3 separate regions of the Homo sapiens genome follow, and regions 1 and 3 are each linked to region 2. The links are contacts of gene promoters, found by promoter capture Hi-C in blood cells and fetal thymus (Javierre and others, 2016). All regions are on one chromosome and are shown on one strand. Each heading gives the region's core, a stretch centred on a gene start or on the middle of the fragment in contact. The rest is flanking DNA. Distances are from core to core; before and after follow the strand shown. Region 1 overlaps STX6 (syntaxin 6). Region 2 holds the start of TOR1AIP2 (torsin 1A interacting protein 2). Region 3 overlaps IER5 (immediate early response 5).

What was found. Contacts are between HindIII fragments. The CHiCAGO score rates a contact against its expected background, and 5 or more counts as called.
Region 1: a fragment that was not itself captured here is called in contact with the fragment with the promoter of TOR1AIP2 in region 2 in 1 of 17 cell types (neutrophils); the score reaches 5.0 in neutrophils.
Region 3: a fragment that was not itself captured here is called in contact with the fragment with the promoter of TOR1AIP2 in region 2 in 1 of 17 cell types (total CD8 T cells); the score reaches 5.4 in total CD8 T cells.

The regions. Positions count from the first base shown.
Region 1 is chr1:181,014,012-181,018,821 of GRCh38, reverse strand. The region is part of intron 1 of STX6 (syntaxin 6); the gene reads left to right. Among named protein-coding and RNA genes, the nearest start is that of STX6, 6.5 kb to the left of the region's middle. The HindIII fragment of the contact is 4,559 bases long and covers 291-4,810 here.
Region 2 is chr1:179,875,202-179,879,546 of GRCh38, reverse strand. TOR1AIP2 (torsin 1A interacting protein 2) reads left to right here and starts at 1,744. Exons shown (of 7, transcript NM_001199260.2): 1 at 1,744-1,854; 2 at 2,174-2,308. RefSeq lists an enhancer at 1,410-1,769. The HindIII fragment of the contact is 9,006 bases long and covers 1-4,345 here.
Region 3 is chr1:181,088,765-181,092,968 of GRCh38, reverse strand. IER5 (immediate early response 5) reads right to left here. Exons shown (of 1, transcript NM_016545.5): 1 at 69-4,204. The coding sequence starts at 4,066. The coding sequence ends at 3,083. Among named protein-coding and RNA genes, the nearest start is that of IER5, 2.2 kb to the right of the region's middle. RefSeq lists silencers at 2,462-2,756, 3,331-3,550, 3,751-3,910 and an enhancer at 2,771-2,940. The HindIII fragment of the contact is 1,793 bases long and covers 622-2,414 here.

The sequences.
Region 1 (4,810 bases), core at 1,321-3,820, 1.1 Mb before region 2:
TGAAATTAGGATTTTAGGAATATTGATTTGGTGGTAGTGTTGGATGCATCAGTGTGAGGAAAGATGAAAAAGGAGACCAGTTAGAAAGCTGTTGTAACTTATACATGCAGTGGTTAGTGCTTGGAAGTTTGAAGCTCCTTTTGGGAGGTTTTGACATTGTCAATGTCCTGTTCGGAACAGAATCCCACAACAGGGATTGCTCTTTTATCCTTATGAAGTAGGTATTATTATTGTCATCATTTCACAAAAAGGAAAATGAAACTTAGTAAAAAACTTCAACTTTATAAGCTTGTACGTAGAAGGGCCAGGATTTATATATTTATTACAAATATATATTATATATATAATATGGTCATTTTAAAAATTGGGATTATACGTTATATATGGTTTTATCACTTTTTCTTTTCTTTTTTTTTTTTTTTTTTTTTTTTTTGGGACAGAGTCTTACTCTGTCGCCCAGGCTGGAGTGCAATGGCGATGGCGTGATCTCAGCTCACTGCAACCTCTACCTCTTGGGTTCAAGCGATTCTCCTGCCACACCCTCCCAAGTAGCTGGGACTACCAATGTGCGCCACTATGCCTGGCTAATTTTGTATTTTTAGTAGAGATGGCATTTCACCCTGTTAGCCAGGCTGGTCTTGAACTTTGACCTCAGGTGATCCACACACCTTGGCTTCCCAAAGTGTTGGGATTATAGGCATGAGCCACCGCGCCTGGCCTGTTTTATGACGTTTTCATCTGTATTTCTTTATATCCTTCAGACTTCTGGGTGGCAGCTTTTAATGACTGCATTGTATTTTGTCATATAAATGTTCATCCTGGAAGATACATTATATTTATGATCACACTACAATTAATGTGGTGATAAGCCTACTTGTCATAGGTCTGTATTGCTGCTTCTGATTTTCATAGCCTGTATTCCTGGAGCATAATTGCTAATTCAGAGGGCAGGCACAGCAAAGCGTTTGATGCATACTACCACGTTGTCCTCCAGAATATTCCCCCTTGCCCCTCAAAGTGTTTGAGGGACCCAATTCCCTTGATTCCAGTACTGGGATTTTCATTAAAAAAATCTTTACTAATCTCCGGGTGAAAATATCATATTTAAATCTTGTAGTCTTCATCTTTGTATTCAGTAAGGATGTACTCAGTGTTTGTTGAGTGAACCCATTTTGATTGTTTAGTTCTGTAGTTTTTTTCCTCCCTTGTTGGCAAGTTTTTAGAATTAGCCTCCTTTTAGAATTTGCACCTTCTAATCAGACAAACCCTGAAGAAAACCATGTAACTGAGCATGTGGAGACAGAGTATAAGTGAGCCACTCCTGTGGATAAAAGGTACAAATACCATGGCTCTTTGCTATTTTATTGCTGTGGAGGTTTTGTGTGTCTGATGAGGATAGTTTTTTGTTTGTTTGTTTGTTTGTTTTTTTGAGACGGAGTCTCACTCTGTTGCCCAGGCTGGAGTGCAGTGGCGCGATCTCGGCTCACTGCAAGCTCCGCCTCCCGGGTTCACGCCATTCTCCTGCCTCAGCCTCCTGAGTAGCTGGGACTACAGGTGCCCGCCACCACGCCCAGCTAATTTTTTTTTTTTTGTATTTTCAGTAGATACGGGGTTTCACTGTGTTAGCCAGGATGGTCTCGATCTCCTGACCTCGTGATCCTCCCACCTCGGCCTCCCAAAGTGCTGGGATTACAGGCATGAGCCACTGCGCCCAGCCGAGGATGGTTTTTTTGTTTGTTTGTTTGTTTTTGAGACAGAGTCTCATTCTGTCACCCAGGCTGGAGTGCAGTGGCGCGTCTTGGCTCACTGCAACCTCCGCCTCCCGGGTTCAAGCACTTCTCCCTGCCTCTGCCTCCCGAGTAGCCCGCCATCACGCCCGGATAGTTTTTGTATTTTTAGTAGAGACAGGGTTTCACTGTGTTTACCAGGCTGGTCTTGAACTCCTGACCTCAGGTGATCTGCCCGCCTCGGCCTCCCAAAGTGCTTGGATTACAGGCATGAGCCACCGCACCCAGCATGATAACAGTTTTATTTCCAGGTTTTTGGCTGTGGATTGATGTTGAAATAATGACATAAGTAAGCTGATGAGTAAGATGGTATATGTTATGTTGTGTTCTTTAACCTTCTCTGTCTGCATATCTAGCTTTATTAACACTAGATTATGAGCTCCTCGAGGGCATCACGCATTCTATTCACTGTTGAAAAACTGTATTGGTATAGTCACTGTGAAAAAAATAACCCTTGTTTGTTAATTTTGGCCTAGTAAAATTGAATGTAAATCAAATTTAATACTTTCTAAAAAGCAGAATCCAGTGTTTCGTTGTAAGAACAAATTTGCAAGCCTTTATTATAAATTTGAGTGTTTAATATTATTTAGCTCCTTAGTTTGGAGAACACTATGCAGATAAGTGAAAGATATATTGTGTAAGATTTTGCAGTAGAGTTGAGATGCTGTGGAGATTGAAAAAAAAAGAAAGACCCATGCTGGGAATGCTGGTCAATCTGGGCCTTAAAGGAAGTGTCTGCTGAGGTGTAAGGCTCTTCTAGGCTGGGGAAACAACTGAGTGGAAGTCAAGAACCAGGAATGAGAAAGATAAAGATGGGAAGAAGACCTGCCAACTGAAACAGAATTTGTTCAGTGAGAAACCATGCTTGATACTAAAGTCAGCCAGTTTGGGTTAGGAGGAGGAGTGGGAGAGGGTTTGAATACCTGCCTGAGGAGTTTAAATTTAATCTGATTTCTATCATAAATTCTAAATCAGGAGGCAGTTTTTAAACTAGCAGTTACTATTCACTTGCTTATAGTCAGCTTTTAAGGGTTCAAACCCAGATCTTCTGATTCTACAAAGAAAACAGATTTGTGGGCCAGGTGCGATGGCTCATGCCTGTAATCCCAGCACTTTGGGAGGCCAAGGCAGGCGAATCATGAGGTCAGGAATTCGAGACCAGCCTGGCCAACATGGTGAAACCCCATCTCTACCAAAGATACAAAAAATTAGCTGGGTGTGGTGGTGGGCACCTGTAGTCCCAGCTACTTGGGAGGCTGAGGCAGGAGAATTGCTTGAACCCTCTTTTGCAGTGAGCTGAGATCACGCCACTGCACTCCAGCCCTGGTGACAGTGCAAAACTCCCTCTCAAAAAAAAAAAAAAAGATTTGTGTGGAAGTTTTGGAAAAATGCAATTAAATAAGTCTTGGTAATAGAAAGTGTCTTATAATCAGGGTTGGAAGAACTTGAGGCAAGCAGCCAATATGTCTGAGCCCCAAGGTCTCTTATTTATGTTTAAGGAGCACAAACTAGATTATCTTGAAAGTTCTTTCCAGATCTGAAAATTCAGTGATTGGATTTAAGTAGAGGTTGTGCAAGGTAAGGAGGAGGAGGAGTCAAAAATGACTCTTGTCTAGACAAGTGTTGAAACTTGGAAAATGGTGGCACTATTGGCTAAAATGAGGAAGCTAGAAAGGGAAGCAGATTTTTCTATTTTGTTTGTTTTGAATACATTATGTTTTGTAGGGAGGATATGATTAATTTGGTTTTAGGCAAATGGAATGATCCTATAGGCAGCTAAAAATATAGGAATTAAGCCTGGCTGAGTGGTTAGGGTTGGAAGTATAGTGGGGGAGTCATCAGCTTAAGAGGGGTGCTTTGAACTTGTGAATGCTGATGAGCACATAGAGGCCACAAAGAGTACTGAGAAACATTGGGATCCAGTGGAGGAAGAGGAAGGAGAAAACTGGTAGAAAACTAGAACAGCACAATGTCACAGAGACAGAGAAAGTGAGAGTTTCAAGCAAATAGATATAATGGGCCATAGTGTCAAGTGCACCAAAAATGAGGACAAGTTAAATTCACTCGTGACTTTGACCTGCAGTGTCATTGGTGGAGTTGTGGAAGCAGCAGTAAGTTAGGGTCAAAAATTGTATATAATTGTAGGTAACTGAGTAAAAATGATGTTTCATTTTCACAAGAGTAATTACAAAATATGTCACAGTGTGGTTGAATTTGGAAATGGCAATAAAGTCAAGTAAAGGGTGTGCATGTGTTTCCTTTCAAATACAAACGATGTGAATGTAGAAGTCAAGCAATAAAAAGAGTTCCTCTCTTTCTGGAGAGATGAGTGGTGAAACCAGGTTTGTGGGGTATGGGGCAGGAACCAGTTGGAGAAGAGTGAGGAGTGGGAGTCTGATGTGTTGCAGAGGCTCACTCAACCTGAATTTTTCATGTTTCATTACTAGAATGGAAACTTTCAGCCTTGACTAGCCTCTTTTACTGTATTGATGAAATGGGGATCCCTCTGTAAAGACTTGCAGAGTAGGTGCTGTCCCAGATAAAAGAGTTGTGGCAGATTGTATTTTTTCCATTGATGGCTGCACCAATAAATGTTCTGTCCTGTGTTGCTTTTCTTTCTTTTTTTTTCTTTTTTTTTTTTGAGATGGAGTCTTGCTCTGTCTCCCAAGCTGGAGTGCAGTGGTGCAATCTCGGCTTACTGCAACCTTCGCCTCCTGGGTTCAAGCGATTCTTCTGCCTCAGCCTTCTGAGTAGCTGGGTTTACAGGTGCATGCCACCACACCCGGCTAATTTTTGTATTTTTAGTAGAGACGGTTTGACTGTATTGGCCAGGCTGGTCTCGAACTCCTGACCTGGTGATCCACCCACCTCGGCTTCCCAAAGTGCTGGGATTACAGGCGTGAGCCACCACGCCCGGCTGTTTGTTTTTATTAAATTGTGAAGCTGGCATTCTTTTATCAAACTGGAGTTTGTATTCCCTTCCTTTGAACCTGGGCAGACCTTTATAAACTGCTTTGACTAGC
Region 2 (4,345 bases), core at 495-2,994:
ATTAATTCACACACTTAACTATTAGGGCTAGGTCTGGAAATCCTGTGCTCTTGAGACTGGGTTCCTAAATCAGTTATTTTATTTCATTTTTAATTAATTTATTTATTTAGAGACGGAGTCTCGCTCTTTCGCCTAGGCTGGAGTGCAGTGGTGCAATCTCGGCTTACTGCAGCCTCCCCCAACTCCAGGTTCAAGTGATCCTCCTGCCTCAGCCTCCCGAGTAGCTGGGATTACAGGTGCCTGCCACCATGCCCAGCTAATTTTTGTATTTTTAGTAGACATGGATTTTGCCATGTTGGCAAGGCTGGTCTTGAACTCCTGACCTCAGGTGATCCATCCGCCTTGGCCTTCCAAAGTGCTGGGATTACAGGTGTGAGCCACCACGCCTGGCCAAAATAATTATTTTAAATGAAACATTTTAGAACAATAAATTTTTTGTACAGGAACTTTTTGCTTTAGGGTAAGCAGAAGTTCATTTATTTAAAGAGATAAATCTATCCGTTGTGACTTAGTAGTACAAATGAAGTAGGCAAACAATTTTAATAAGGAAAAGATGATTAAAATATTAAACAGGAGGAAGTTAATTAAAGACATAGTAGCTGGCTCCATTTATTCCCCAGTCTTACAAATGATAGAAAAATATTTTAATGACAATACAAATGAAAATTCCTGGAAATGTTATACTGAAATTAATTAAACACAATAAAGTGAATGGAATATAGTATTCTTTTTGTTGAATTAGGACTTGCAGTTAATTATTAAACACCATCCAAGAGTGTTACCAAATCCTGTCACTTCTGCCAAGAGAGGGTGATTGAGAAGTGAAGGCACCAAAAATCACATTAAATGAGGAATTATTAATTCAATAAATACTTGAGCTACTGTGTAGTAGGCAGTCCCTGTTCTCTGTGCTGGGGATACAGCAGTGAACAAAATAGACTAAAAGACAAAAAATGTTTCCTGCCTTCTTGGAGATTATATTCTATGGGAGGAGTCGGGCAAAAATCAAAATAAGTAAAATAGTGTGTTGGTCAGGACTGTTATGGGAAAAAAAAGAGGAAAGGGGAAGGGAGTTTTACATGAATAGATTTCTTCTTGAAATTTGGTTAGATTTGTCCTGAATTGCTGTAGGTCAAGAACAGGAATTTTAGACTTACTTCATTTTTCCCCCAACAAATTGTATGTTCTTGGGTAAATTGCTCGCCATCTCTTAATTTTCACATTTATAAAATTAGTAGATCAAAACAGCTATTTTTTGTCACTACTGTCATTTAACAGAAATGCTGCATACGTCATCTAATCTACTAATAACAAACTTATGAGGTAAGTAACGTTGTCCCCATTTGACACACGAGCAAACTGAGGTTTAGATTAGGCAACTCATTGGATTACATGCTCCTCTTAATGGCACAGAGGGTGTGTTCCAGGACATGGTGCTTGCCATTATCATTTGGTACTGCTGCTCACTGTGTTGGTCCTATGAGTTTCTTCAGTCTATGAATTTCAGGTCAGGGTGGTCGACGTCTTACAGAGATGCCTGTAATCCTGTCAGCATGAGATTGCATGGGACCTCTGCGGTTTGGTCGCGCATTTACCGCGCCTGTCGCTGGGTCAGACGACCTGGCAGTAGAGGGTGAAGGATGGAGAAGGCAGAAGGCAGGGCACGGAGACTACTAGTCCCAGGATTCCACGGGCGCCTTCCGGCGGAAAGTGTTTGTCATATGGGCGGGGACCCTGGACGACATTCGGGCCGCGGCGGCCGCTGGGTGCAGCCGAGCGGTGTGGAGCGGAGAGAATACTCGAAGGGCTCTCCTGATACTAACAGTTTTACGATTTAAAACTTCGCCAGAATTTGTAAGTAAACAAAATGACTATGCAGCTTTTCCATGTTTTAGTATTGAAACTGATATCTTGAATTTTTGAAAAGGACTTTCAGAAACGGTCCCTCCCCACCCCCACCTTCGTACCGCACAAATGGTATTTTTATTTTTATTGTTTTTGAGACAGGTACTTGCCCTGTCACCGAGGCTAGAGTACAGTGGCGTGATCATAGCTCACCACAGCCTCATACTTCTGGGCTCAAGGGATCCTCCCGCCTCAGCCTCCCAAGTAGCTGGAACTACAGGCCCGCACCACCATGCCCTACTAATTACTTTATTTTTTATTTTTATAGCGACAGGGTCTCACTGTATTGCCCAGGTTGGTCTCGAACTCCTGGCTTCAAGCGATTCTCCCACCTCAGCCTCCCAAAGTGCTGGGATTACAGGCGTGAGCCACCACGCCTGGCCTCACTCAAACAGTAAACGAGGTAGGTTGGGGGTATATTTTTGTTTTGGGATAAAAAGAAACTGAATCTTATAAATATTAAATGGGTTAAGATGTGAGTAAATTTTTGGGTTTAGACTTTAAGGTGAGAAGCCGAATTATTTTAGGGTTCGAAATGTGAGTGGGAAATTTGCCTACTAGTGTAGGCGGCGATTACTCCATTCCCAACATGCCTAGGTTCTCGACATTCATAATCTTAATCCTGAAAAGATAATACTTAAAAAAAAAAAAAATTGGTGCTAAAAAGGGCAAAGTTGAAGTTTTAGTAAGACCTCCTACCATTTTGCTTACATATTATATATGTACCATTCTCCCAATTGTATTTAATACCTGATGAAAAAGTTTGTGCCTTTTCCTTCTTTTAACAAATTTCATAGTACTCTCTACTTTATGAGTAATGCTTAATTATCAGACTTTATACTGTTACACAGATCCAGAAATGAGTTACATAGATTAAACATACTGGCTTTGTTTTACCTGTCTTTAGGTTTTAACACATTTTATTTTGGATCTGTATGAGAGATCCTTTCTTTGTTTTAAGCTGTGGCAGTTATCCATGTTTTTTGAGCTTTTTTTTTTGAGCACAAGATGAGGATATAAAAGGCCAGTGGAAACATTTAATAAAAAAAGGAACTTCATGGTAGAGTAACTACAGATGTTTTTGGAAGACTTTGTGTGGATTAGAATAGTTTGAAAAACTAACATTTGTTATGAAAACTGAGTGCCTGTCTTCAGTAATGTTTATTATGCTGAACGTGCAGTCCACAACTTGATTACCTGTTTTTCTGCTGGTTTGTTACGCAACCTTGCGTGACTCATTTAAGAACTATTTTATCTAGTTTCTTTCCTAATGTAGAGGTAATGCTAGCTTGAGAGCTTCAATAATTTATAAATAAATTAACTTCAGAATGTAGCTAATTATTTGAGGATTATTGGGTGTTTTAATAATGTATTGTATCTTGTATATAACTTATTTTTGCCTAAGAAGTAATTTCTGTATTCCATTCATTTCCATGGAACACAGAAGTCAAAATTCTATTCCAGGAAAGTCCACACTTCTTTGAAGTGCCACTTGAATTTCCTGAAGGAATGTTTGCTTCAAAAAGCCTTGTCTGCTTTATCACTTTGAGGTTGTTCACTAAGTCAACTGTGAAGGCCCATAAACTTGGAGATTCGACAACTTCCAAAAAAATTTAAAGAATGAAGAATTGGCTGTTTTATTTACCATTTAGAATTTTGATTGTGTTAAAATTTCATTAATATTTCTACATCATATGAACTACTGGATTAAACTGTGTCCTACAAGAAGGAATTCATAGGGCGATCATATATTACCATAAATTTTGCACAGAAATCAAGCACTTGGGAATAAGGAAGCGTGTCCCTAACATTGGTAATGAGCATAGACTGGAGTCATAGCTGGGTTTGAATTCCTATTTTGTTACTGTGTGGGCTGTTTTCCTCTTTACTAATATTTAAAGGAGCTGGCACATGATTTTTTTTTTTTTGGTGCCATGGCTCTGGTATGAACTGTGCACATAATTTTGGTAATCGAAATTTCTGGGAAGAAAATTCACCTATAACTCCACTACCTCAACAAATCAAATTGTTTGATTTTTAGAGATTTTCCTTCAGCCCTTGACCATGAGTATCTATCATGTAAATGTAATGACATTTTTGGAAAAAGTCAAATTTTGAAACATTGGTGTCTTCTGGGGTTTTAATTATATAAATGAAGCTGTCTGGTTTTGCCTTTAATAGTTCAAATAATAATTATTTACGGTTTTTGAGGACTTCTTTTGTGCCCCTGTGGTTGCCAGTATTGCACATTATCTCATTTGATCTTCACACTGCCTCTTTCATCTAAGTACTATTATTCCATTTTGTAATTAAGAAAACCAAGGAAAAAATTAGCCAGGGGCTGGGTGCAGTGGCTCACGCCTATAGTCCCAGCACTTTGGGAGGCCAAGGTGGGTGGATCACTTGAGGTCAGGAGTTTGAGACCAACCTGGCCAACATG
Region 3 (4,204 bases), core at 269-2,768, 1.2 Mb before region 2:
CAAAGCTTCCTGACTGCCAAGTGTCCAGAGAAAAAGAGGAATAAAAGAACCCAGCATTCACACATAGGACCACTTAAAAATAGATTCTCCATTCTCCTCTTTTCTTACAAATACACACAAATCTTTGACCACAGTGTATCTGATTTATACACAGAATTAACTTCTACATTAACAATAATTAACAGTTGCGTGCTTATTACATATGAGGTACTCTTCTAAGAGCATTAACTCATTAATTTTCACAACCCTATGAGACAGATCCAATTATCCCAATTTTACATTTGAAAAACCTGAGGCACAGAGAGATGAAGTAACTTGTCCAAGGACCCACAGCTAGGTGGCAGAGCCAAGATAGAAAAACCCAAGCAGGCCAGGTTGTGGTGGCTCATGCCTGTAATCCCAGCACTTTGGGAGGCTGAGGCAGGAGGATTGCTTGAGGCCAGGAGTTCAAGACGAACCTGGTCAACATAGCTCACTTTATATTTACTTTTTATAATTAAATAAATAAATAAATAAAGGAAGACACCAAGCAGCCTGGCTCCAGGGCCCATGCTCTAACTACTATACTATACTGCTTCTGCAACAAAAAAGAGAATGATCTTTTCTAATTCCTACAAAGCTTTATCCTCCTATCAAGTATGCCAATTTACATTCTTTAAGCAGACACATGGACCCAGGTTCATCTTAATGTAAAACCAAGGATCAACTTTAGTCTCATCCAAAACACATCAGCTCTCTTAAACACACCAAACGTTACCCCCTTTAAAACATAAAATACACTGAGATCGCTGTTCAAGCATCATACTTTCTAACAACAGGAAATGTTTGCAGAATTAAGGCCCTGGACACCTTCTTCAGTTTAAGCAGTCAGCACTTGATGGATCTTTTGTAGCTGTAACAGAATTTAAGTAGCTACTTTCTGAAAGAAAAAGTCAGTTTAACAAGACCCTAATTTGAGAATGTTTAATTCTATAAATACATTATTATGGCGACAGAGCATAAAGTACAAAGTTCCCTATGCTTAAGGAACCACTAATAGATTTGCCGAAATATCAAGGCACGAGGCACTGGCCTATTCAGCTAAAACAGAAGTTCGTATAATTGGGAGTTAAGGCCAAGACACCATTCATATGCCTCTTATGCTCGAAGGCTATGACCTTTAAACCTTTGTCTTTCTTCAATCTCTCCCATCTTTTAAATACCCTATATACTCGTAAGTTGTTAGAAACCAGTACCATCTTTTAAAGTCCTGGCAACTGTACCGTATTTTAATAAACACCATTCCCTAATTGATTTGCTTCTGAAATAGATTACTGAATACCTTTCAAACATTGAACATGAAGAGACAAAAAACTCTCTTAATGGCAGTGATTTTAGTAAAATCGATGGATGTTTTGGCTATCATCACCTAAGTGTCTACCATGACCAAACACTGATGTCACCATTTAAGTAACAAAACAAATCAGGAAGTTTTGCTAAATGAGAACTAAATTTGCCTAGCCCTCCTTCCTTATCTGGTTTGATGCAAACAATTTCCCTCTCAGCAATATATTTACTTTCTAGATGTAAGAGAAAAACTGAAAATTTACATCCTGACATCCACTGTGATGCAGAGGTGGACCTGACAATTTGGACAAGTCAGTCTCTTTCATCTTCCTATGTCAGTTCGAATGGGCTTTTAAGGTAAACTACTATCTAAACTTTTTTTTTTTCAATTACAAAGCTAAAAGATGACCCGTATTAATAGCTTAACAGGAAACAAAGTTTTGCTGAAAAACATTTTTGTGGATAAGCGGGGCTTCAAAAGTTGGTTAAATTACTTAGTATTAGACACCCACATATTGGGTGACAAATTGGTCTAAACTGACCTTAGAAAAGGCAGTTGTAGTGGCAGGTTTCTAGAACCTGACAGGTCGCCGATATTAGTATCTAATAGCAGTCCTCTGATCTAGGAGGAAAAATTAAACGTGTCTCTCTTGATACTTAGTGGAGTCAGTAAACAATGTCCTCAGTCTGCGAATGACTGATACTAAGAACCACACCTTCAATTTTCTAGCTCAGGCCCTGGTTTCCCTCCTCCCACTTCCCTCCCAACCCAGGCAGGTTATTACAGACAAGCAGGCAGTTACGTTGCTTCAAAATATTTAATACGTGTTAGACACGTAGAAGTTACATTTTTATACAAAAATCAATACAACGAAGGAGAAAATACTGTACAAAAACCTTATCAGCTCCCCCAACCTTTATACAACAAAGACTGGAGTCACCATATCTACAAAACCATAAGGTCTTTCCACTTCGGGCTTCTGTCTGTAAACTCTCATTAAACACTTTTTAAAAGCACTGTGTAGTACTTCTGACCTAGAGCTTTTAAAAATATATCTTTTCTCTATAAACTCCATTATTTCCAAGCTTGAACTCTTCTGTGAAGTTCGTCAAGCTTTTTCTCCCCTGCGGGGAAGCAAAGGACCGTTAATACGCCCCTTTCCTAGAGTAATCACAGGATATAAACGTTTCTTCATTGGGAGAGAAAGGTGGGGAGGGACAGAAGGAATCCAAGTCTGTGCTCTTGGCTAAATCCCTCTCGTCTTAGGAAATCCTGTGCGGAAACGCCACTCCTGGCCCTGAAGCGGGTCTAGCTTTCCGGTGAGGGGTAGGTGTAAAGTCCCTCCCTCCCCGGAGAACGAATGGGGAACTCCCCGGCCCAAACCTTTTAGCCGCTTCCTTCTCCACGCAGCCGGCAGAGGAAAGTCCCTGTCTGCCCCCAATCTCTTAAACCCTGGGGAAGGAGTGGTGCATTCCAGAAGAGCAAAATAGTCTTAATGCCACAAGACAAACTTACATACACAGACATACACAAACACAAAAGTTAACGATCGTCCTCTTCCAATGAGCCTCAAGCTCCCAGGTCTCCAGATAAGCCAGATGCGCCCGGGGGCAGTTTGCGATGCCCAGAGGCAACCAGTCTGCCCAACGCGCTCAGCGCCCGCGGTCTCTGGGCGTCCTCGCAGCCGGGAAGGGCCTGGCCCTCACTTCGGGGACGCCCGCTGCTCCACCTCCTCCCCGCAGGGGGGCCAAGGGCTCAGAAGGCCACGATGGCTGTGCTCCAGGGGTTCATGTCTCTCAGCACCGGCTTATCGCAGCAGATCTGCCCGGGCTCGGCGGCTTCCGGACCGCTCTCCTCTCCCTCCTCTTCCTCTCTGCCGCCCCCGGGGCTTTTCCGTAGGAGTCCCGAGAAACTGGAACCGAAGATGCTGATGAGGTTAGCCACGTTCCCGGTCTCCATCTCCTCCGCGTCGTCGTCCTCTCCTCCACTCGGCGGCTGCTCTAAGTTCCGGCGGGGCTTCTTGAGCGGGGTCGAGCCGGGCGCCGGGCAGCCCGCTGGGCCGCCGCCCACCCCCGCCGCGCAGCGCTTCCTGGGGCACACCGCGGGCGGCGCGGGGGGCTCGTCCTCCGCTGGTTGCGGCGCGCAGCAGCAGGCAGCGCGGGGGGTCGCGGCCGGTGTACCCGGCGGGTCCTCCCCGCCTAGGGGGCAGCCGCAGGGGCGGCGCGCGGCACGAGATACCTCGGGGAAGACGCCCCAGCCTCCGGCGGTACCCTCGGCTTCTCTGGCCGCCGCCTGGCGCGGCCCCTCCACGCGGCTCCAGGCAGCTTCCGTCGCGTCCGCCTCTCCGCCCTGAAAAACGTCCCCGACTCCAGTCACCGTGGCCACCGGCACCTCGTCCCCTACCCGCGGCGCGTCTGAGACGGAGGAGCGCTCCGGCTGCGGCTCGGTCTCCGGCCAAGAGGCACGAGCGGCGGGCGGGGGCGGCTCTCCCCAGCCGGCGGGTGGCCCGGCCGCCGGCTCCCCGGGCTGCTGCTGCGGTGGCGGCGCCGGGGTCCCAGCGGGACCGGCCAGGTAGAGGCCGGGGCACGGGTCGCTCAGGTAGACTTGGCGGGCGCTGCGCAGCACCAGCGAGACCAGGAGGTTCTTATGCAGCTTGATGCCGCCGCGCTGGACCCGCGAGTTGTAGATCTTGCCCAGAGAGATGCTGACGATGCGATGAGCCTCCAGCTTGAACTCCATCTGCTTCCCCTGCACAGGGCCGTCGGCGCCGGGGTGACACGTTTGGAAATTGGGAGGGAACGGGAGGCGCAAACAAGTCCGCCCCCTGGGCACACCCTCGATCACCTAAGACTCCGAAGAGAAACGACTCTGGTGACG